Regions from separate parts of the Homo sapiens genome. Here region 1 is linked to region 2. The links are contacts of gene promoters, found by promoter capture Hi-C in human tissues and cell types (Jung and others, 2019). All regions are on one chromosome and are shown on one strand. The core of a region is centred on a gene start or on the middle of the fragment in contact, and the rest is flanking DNA. Distances in the headings are between cores, read along the strand shown. Region 1 overlaps SH3GL3 (SH3 domain containing GRB2 like 3, endophilin A3). Region 2 holds the start of ADAMTSL3 (ADAMTS like 3).

Region 1 (4,317 bases), core at 1,351-3,850, 43 kb after region 2:
GGAATAGAGGGCTTACAATACAGAACTTTTCATTTTCCTTGGGTCATGGAGTGTGTATATGGGTGGGCAGGTGGGGGCTGAGCACTGAAAACCAAGGGCAACCTGAGCTGTGAGTCAAAGTCTACTTTATTAATGTATAACTGTTTTAATGTGGATTATAAAAATAATTATTATTCTTTTAGCATTTCTCCCACTACTAGACTAGTTTTTAACAGAGAAGGGGTCAGGTGCCAAACCACATGGTAGTCTCGGGAAGCATTTCCTTGAACACAGAATGTTAATGCTAGAATGGAATTTGGCAGTCCTCCATGAGTCCTCTCCTTTTCCAAGAGAAGCCATCAATGCCTCTGAGAGGTCATAATGGCCTGGCCCCAGGGCTACTGGCTGAGCCAGAAACAGGAGGGCTCCAGACCCTAGGCCATCAGCTACCTTGCTCCATGTCACCTCGTACATGATCTATGACACCACTAAGGGTTGCCAAGACATTTCATAGGCTGACACACTGATTACAGGGCTAATGATAGATAGATAGATAGATAGATAGATAGATAGATAGATAGATAGATAGATAGATTTATATATTTCCCTCCCATTTACTCTATAAGCCACCTGCAATGACCAAAATGCTTAGTGGCAAGCATACATTTGTCCAAGTGTATGCACCACCTCCATGTGTAAACCAGGCCACCACCTCCATGTGTAAACCTGGGTTCTTGCTGCACACACACACAGAACAAATCATGGAAAAGCTGCATTACTCACTTCTCATGTCATTCATTCTTGGCAAGGAACCACTGCCACATTGCCCACTTTGATATTCTGAGAGCTGGAAAGAGACCAGCACTCATATCACACTCCATCAGCACCTAAACCCAAGGCAGGGCATCTCTCCAGAGACCACTGAGTAGAAAGACCCTGTTCAAGAACTCCCTGACTCAGGCAGTACAAGTGCACCTGGCCCTCCAGCCACCACTGGGCTGGCTACAACACTAAGAGCAATTGGCACTTGCTAAGTAGGCAGTTGGTAAATCCACCCCAACCAGAGCTCAGACTGGCTGCCCTGAATTATACATGCAGCCGGACGATATTCTGAAGTATCAATGCATTTTTCATTCTGGGTCATTTCTGTTGCCTGGGGCCCTCAACCCAAGGAGCTGGGGCTTGCCTCCCTTACTTGAGGAGGAGGGTGGAACCCAGACATGAACAAAGCAGTCAATGTTTAGCTTTTAAATTCCCAAATAATACCATTTCAGTTGTGAAACATTGTGAAAGCCAAGGCTTTTAGGCTTTCATGCTAGAGCCAGGTAGGCTTTTATAAGATTTAAGAGCGAGAGAGAGAGAGAAACTTCTGGGTTCCAAGAACTAGAGCTTGAAGAACTCAGAGCCTAGCATTTTGATTACAAGCCATGGAGAGGGAGGAGCTGTTTCCTGCCATCCAGAGAAGAGATACAAGCTCTTTCTGGAGGCAGGGAAGCAGGGAAGGGGCCTGCAGTGAGAAGAGGGTGAGCAAGAAAATTGAAATGCTCCTTGGATGCCACCCTGGGGAAGGGGGTCTTAGACTCCACTTTCCACAGAAATCCCGGGAGAAGGCAGCTGTCAAAGTTCTCTGGACTAACACGGGGGCTGGAGCCCAGTGGAAACCATGTGGTGTCACTAAGTACAGATGGGGCCTGAAGGCTGGTCGCTCCCTGTGAACTGTGAACAAATTCCCTCAAGTCCCCAGCAGGAAGTGCTGAGGGGCCACTGAGGCCAGAGGCTGCCTGGGGGCAGTGACACACGGCTCCAAATACAGAGATTCAGCAACCCAGAGAGGGAGGCCTAAGCCACAGATGTCAGCACAGATCCTGGCCCAGGCCCCAGGCCTCCTGTGACGAGTCACCTCAGCTGTGGAAGTGAGCCTCCCTACCTGCCACCATGATGTTCTGTAAACCCCCCTCACATCTAGGCAACATCTTAGGACTGGACCAGGGGGAGGAGAGAACCTTCAAGAAAAACCAACAGCCCTGATAGGGAATTTCTACTCTGAATTGACTGTGTTTAAATCTGGAATCGCCTAAGTCATAAACGGATAGTCTATGCTTTCTATTGGAAGAGACTGAGCTACCTTGAAATGGCAAGATTATGCTTTTTTCCACCATTAGAAGAAATGGAAAAAAGATTTTAAAGCTTTTTTTTTTTTTTGGTCAACAACAGAAATGGAAAAAAGATTAAGTTGTTTCCGCCATTGGTCTACATAGAGGCTTGCAAGCAAGTTCAGTTCAGCTAAAGAGAAATTAAGTTGCTGCCCGCCTGAGGGACAGTGTGTGAATTTTCCCTTGACACAAAAGTCACCATGGATGGAGCCCCAAAGTCCAGGCAGAATGGGCTGGATTTCCTCAATGGAGGCTTTCCAACTGTTAGATATAAGCCTCTCCAAGGGACCTGAATGCTTGGTTTCCCACCATCAGAAGCCAGCACCTCAGCTGAAAACGTCTCGTAAGAAAAGACTGATCCTACCCAGCGTCCCATCCCTGTTGACAACCCCTTCCCCTTGCCCCTGTGGTCCTGCAGCTGGCAGTTCCTCATCCACCTCCACCTCCTTGCTCTCTCACATTCAGTAGCTGGCACCTGGAATCGCTGGGCATAGTTGTGTAGGAGCTCCCAGGTGGCTGCTGTGGATCTCGGTGTCCTTGAACAGGCGGCTGAAACCCCTGACCCTGGGCTGTCCAGTGAGACGGCTTCAGCCAGCACTGCCCTCCCCAAGTGGCCTTGTGTTGATTTTCTCTTACTCCTGAGACCTGGCTTCAACGAAACGTGAGAGCAGAGGTGGGAAAACACAGTCTTCCTTGTTAAAGTATTGAAACAAAGATTATTTTAACAGAGAAAAGGGAGTGTCCCTGTTAAATATTTATTATTCAAGCTCTGTTCCACACCATTAGGAAAAAGAGAAAGAGAGAGAGAGAGAGAGAGACCCTACCACAAGAGTTTAAGACGGCTGGTCAGTAAGTACTGTATCAGTAACACAGTAGGAGGTAGGAAAACCACGTCCCCCCTGAAATAAACTGAACTTCCCCCTTGGCATTAATATGGTTCAGTCCCTCTTATTTTAACAGCAGGAACATTATTTGCGGTGCCCCTCCCCCAACTCCACTTATTTTGTCTCTATATATATATATAGACACACACACATACATTTATACACACACACATACATATTATATATATATATATATATTTTTTGGCTGAAGTCCCTGCTGCTGCAAAGGGTTACTTGCATATGCAGAAATGCTGAGCACATTTTATTAAGGTAGAGGCGGTCCAATCCTACAATTCCTCAGCCCTACTCAGCTACAGGGACGAAATAATAACTCTCAGGTGTTAGTGTTTACCATGTGCCAGGACAATATTTTAAGTGTCTCAGAGATATTAGTGGATTTATGGATTTAATTCCCAGAGAAATCCTATGAGTAGGTACCACTATTTCCCCCAATGTGAGGGATGGAGAAATTGAGGACACAAATTTAACACAATTAAGCCACAACACTGAGACTTGACCTCGGGCCAGGTAGAGAGTCCACGTTCTTGATCCCTATGCAATATACCCCCTGAAAATTGTTAGTTTGTGGTCTTATCCCCACTCTTTTTCTTTTTCTTTCTTTTCTCTTTTCCTTTTCCTTTTTTCTTTTTTGAGACTGTCTTGCTCTGTTCCTCGAGCTGCAGTACAGTGCCCTGCTATTGGCCTGCAGCCTTGACCTCCTGGGCTCAAGCAATCCTTCCACCTTAGCCTCCTGAGTACCTGGGACTACAGGCACCATCATGCCCGGATAATTTTGGTATTTTCTATAGAGGTGGGGTCTCACTATGTTGCCCAGGCTGGTCTCAAACTTCAGGGCTTAAGTGATCCTCCTGCTTTGGCCTCTCAAAGTGATGGAATTACAGGCATGAGCTACCACGCCCAGCCTTCTCCCACACCATTTCTGAGCCAATCCCATTCAATGGGGTGGCCCATCAGCTGGGCTTGGAATGAGCCTTTGGGTCCTCAGCTCAGCATACCTCAGGATGCTCCCAGGCCTTTGAAGGCTCTCTAAGAGCATTCTCTACCTAAATCCTACGCAGATCCCCAGGAAGGTCTGTCCAGGTCCCACCTAGCCTTGCCTGTCGCACTTGAGGGATAACTTCCAGGCACTTAGTCTCTGTCCTGCCTTCTTCAGCCTGAGTTCCAGCTTCAAAGTGAGCAGCTCAGGCTTCAGTTAAAAACAGTGCCCACTCCAGGTGGTGGATTAGACACCAGAGTAGAGATGGCATCAGAAGGGACTGGCGTGTCTGCAGCCTGGCCTT
Region 2 (3,723 bases), core at 129-2,628:
TCTCATACCTCCAGCTCTTCAGAAGCTGAGATATCCCTGCCCAAGCCTATCTGTCAGCAGCAGGGTGTCGCTATTGGCATTTGACTCAGGAAGCCAGCACAGAGCCAAGGTTTAGGCTAGCTTCTGCTGCTCGCGGCAAAAATGAGTCTAAGACAACAAAGCCGCCCAGAGAGGGAAAGGACCTGCCTAAGGTCACACAGCAAGATAGTGACATTTTAGGGCTGAAACGCAGATCTTCTGATAGTTCAAGGCTTTCCTCGCTAGATGACACCGTGCGCCCTCGAGGTCCGGGACCCACACCCAGAGAGACGCCTGAGAGCTAAGTTCAGGGAGGTTTGGAGGACACAGCCCCTGAGCCAGCCTAACACAATCTCCTAAAAGTAGGTGAGGGCCAGCCAGCAGAGGTCAGCTGAAACCAGGAGGGAAGCGGGGACTTTTTCCCTTACTTTTCCTGTCAATTTACAGGGAAATCAGTATGAGTCGAGACTGGAAAAGCCGAGGTCACACTCGACTCCCGCTTCGCCTCGCGGGCGCCTTGGCGGAGCTGGTGTCCGGGGGCGGGTCGGTGGCTTCTCTCCATCTGGAGAAGGCATTAAGGGCCTGGTCTAATGTGATCCGCAAATGTGCTGCTGTTTCCGACCTGAGGCGGCGACTCCTGGCTGAAGGGAGGCGGCCAGTGCGGGGCCCTGGGACTCTGCGCCACCCTCGCCTGCTCGCACCAGCCTTCCGAGTGCACACTCCTCCGACTACCCGCTGCCTCGAAGTCGCTCCTCCAGTGCCTCCGCCGCGTCCCGGTCACCCCCACGCCCACTTTCCACGATCGCGCGTCGCCTCAACCCCCGGCGTTCTGGGCGCTCGCTACCCAGTGGTCAACCGGCCGGACCTTCGGACCCGCGAGGTTTCTGCTTAGTAACTCCCAATCCTGAAAAACTCCAACCCTGTGGAGTTCCCCCATAATCAAGAACGCCCCTCAGCCCGCGAACTGCCGCCGAAAGACTCTCCCTGAACCTTCCGGGACGGCACGAAGCGCGCCCGACCCGAGGTGCCCAGCAGTGAGGAGCACCCCAGTCCTGAGGCCCCCTGGGGCCCGCGTGGCACGCCCCGACTCTGCTTGGAGACCCCCAACTTGCTTAGAGAGGCCACTGCTCCAAGTCTTACTCCCTCTGGGGAGCGCCTTCCCCCGACCCCTGAGGGGCCGCCCTGCGCCGAGCTCGGTGCACCCACCTTGCGCCGCAGAAGTATCTGGGACGTGCAGCCCCGGGGCCGCGCGGGCTCGGCGCGCGCTGGGGAGAAGTTGGCAGAAGCCGCCCGTCAACACCTCGTGCGGAATCCGGCACCAGGACCTTCCCCGACGCCGGCCTCCAGCCCGCGGCGCCGCAGTCGCCGCCGCCGCCGCGAAGTTAAATGGGGCTGGGACGGGGGCTGCCCCGCCTCTCCCGCCCCCTCCGGGCGCGCAGAGCGCTGCGCTGGCCCCGGCCCAGAGGCGGAGGGCGCGCGCCGCCACCTGCACCGCCCGGCAAGTGCACGGCGCGCCCAGGCGCCCGTCAGCCTGCGCGCCGGCACCGCGCCCTCGGCTTGAGCTGGAGGCGCCGGGGGCGCGAAGAGACGCCGTGTGGGGCCAGGCCCGGGCCGCTCGGAGCGCGCGGGGCCGCGGCGACGGCGGGACTCGGCTGGAACGCTCCTCCGCCCGCTTCCTGGAAGCCACTCCTCGCCCTGGGCCGGCCGCCAGGCGTTGTGCCAAGAGCCGGGATTGCCGACGCCGCCACCGCCGCCGCCGGCAGGCGCACTGGGGAAAGGCGGCCGCTGCGCCGCAAGCCAGCCTGGCCGCCCCGCCTCAGCCGGAGCCGGAGCAGGGATGCCGTCGCTCCCCCCGAGCCCACCCCCGGCCCCACCTCCCATAGCCTCCACCCACCCCGCCCAGACCCGGGCGCCAGCTCTGCAAAGTCAGGCCCAGCAGCCACACAGAGGTTTGCCCGGAACCGCTGGCTCGTGCCTAAGAGCCATAGGCACTCCTGGCCAGGCAGGACCATAGTGGAGACCAATGGCCCTCTCCTGGCCTGCGCCTCCTCCGCGCAGCATAGACGCCACACAAGGGACTGTGGAGCGCTCACTGCCCAGAGGCCTGGGACCTTTGGCAGCCAGGGACCACGAGGATCTTGCAGGAGCGCCTCTTAACTGGGTACCTGGCGCCTCCTTGTCTGAGCCGGGCTTGGGGAACTGAGAGCTCCACAGGTGCCAGAATCATGCCGTGTCCAGGCCTGGGATTTGGGGTTGGGGGGAAGAGTGTCGCGGACAAGAGACTGGGGTGAGTTGCCTGTGTACTTCTGGAGGTGAGGAGAAGTAAAAGGAAATGTTTGTCCCTGTCCTTGTCCTAGTCCCAGCAGGATAAGCCAAGGGCCAGGAGATTGATCTTAAAGGCTGCATTATGCCCCCACCTAAGTCCTACCACAGTCGCCATTTCCTTGGGTGTCTGTCGAGTACCAAGCTCTTTGTGTCTATCTGATCTTCACAGCAGCAGTAGTTCGAGCATTATCCCATTTCACCTAGGATAAATCTGAGGCTGGGAGGATAACTTGCCCACCATGAGTGGAGAAGCCAGGACTGGAACCCCTATCTGCCTCTCTCTAGAGCCTGGACTGTTCACCCCTAAAGTTGTTCTCCTGCCTTCTCTGTGGTTGCTGCGTTCCGGTTACTGCTAGAGCTTTGCCAAGAGCAATTGGCCCTGCCTGCTTTCCTCACTCATTCTTCCCTTACTTACTCTGGTGACTTCCTCTGACCAAGAAGAGGATCTTCAAGGCTGTCTCTCCACTCTATGTAAAATGATTGGACTTGTGGCAAGTGAGCAGAGGACAGGTCAGTGTGGAGACAGGAGAGGTAAGAGTAGCCAGTGAAGGGTAGGGAGGGCTGGGCTAAACTAGAACTAACTCATCTATGGACAATCGATCCTTTTTATTTACTGTAGTTGTGGTCTATAAAGTCACAGAACAACGAATTTGTGAATATGGAGCCATTGTTCCTAGGGGAAATATAGAGTTGGGTTCCTGCAAGCTCACAATATTTTTGTCAATCAATCAACACATTGCCTTATTTTATGCATGTTTCTGTTTAAAGACGCCTTACTTAACATCTATTGTTGATTCCTGAACACTGAGCTCACAGCCTACAGTGCTGTAACTCATGCCTGAATGAAGCTTATCTAACTTACGTATTTTCTCTGCAACACACATCCCAGCCTTCTTCCACTTAGGAACGCTAGACTTCACTTCAGCACTGTGCCTGGGGGGTGCTTTAAGCAGCAAAATCATCAAAAAAAAGACCAAAAAAATGTGAAAACATGGCAATGAAGAGAACTTTTGGGCCACTCATTTACAGTGTGAAAGCTGAAACAAGAAGACAGAGGGTTGACTGGTTGGACCTTAGCTTCCAACATGTGTCTCAAGAGACTCAAAACGTTCAGCACTGGTTCAATGACTTTGAAAGTGCTGCAGCTATTGATTATGAGGTGTTAAAATAAAAACTTTAGACAAATTTAACAGAGGTTAATTGAGCAAAGAACAATTTGAAAATAGGGCAGCCCCCCTCAGCCCCAAAACAAAATAGATTCAGAGCAACTCTGGGGCTTCCACATAGTCAGATAATATTTATGGATAGAAAACGGAATATGATGAACAGAAAACGGAAATGAGGTACAGAAACAGCTGGATTGGTTACAGCTCGGCATTT

The links. Contacts are between HindIII fragments. The study calls those that stand out against the background at their distance.
Region 1: a fragment that was not itself captured here is called in contact with the fragment with the promoter of ADAMTSL3 in region 2 in 2 of the 25 tissues and cell types used here (hippocampus and mesendoderm cells).

What each region holds. Positions count from the first base shown.
Region 1 is chr15:83,609,878-83,614,194 of GRCh38, reverse strand. The region is part of intron 8 of SH3GL3 (SH3 domain containing GRB2 like 3, endophilin A3); the gene reads right to left. Among named protein-coding and RNA genes, the nearest start is that of ADAMTSL3, 42 kb to the left of the region's middle. RefSeq lists enhancers at 648-817, 945-1,114. The HindIII fragment of the contact is 7,535 bases long and covers 1-4,317 here.
Region 2 is chr15:83,651,778-83,655,500 of GRCh38, reverse strand. It overlaps ADAMTSL3 (ADAMTS like 3), which reads right to left and starts at 1,378. Exons shown (of 30, transcript NM_207517.3): 1 at 1,225-1,378. RefSeq lists an enhancer at 2,740-2,909. The HindIII fragment of the contact is 6,298 bases long and covers 501-3,723 here.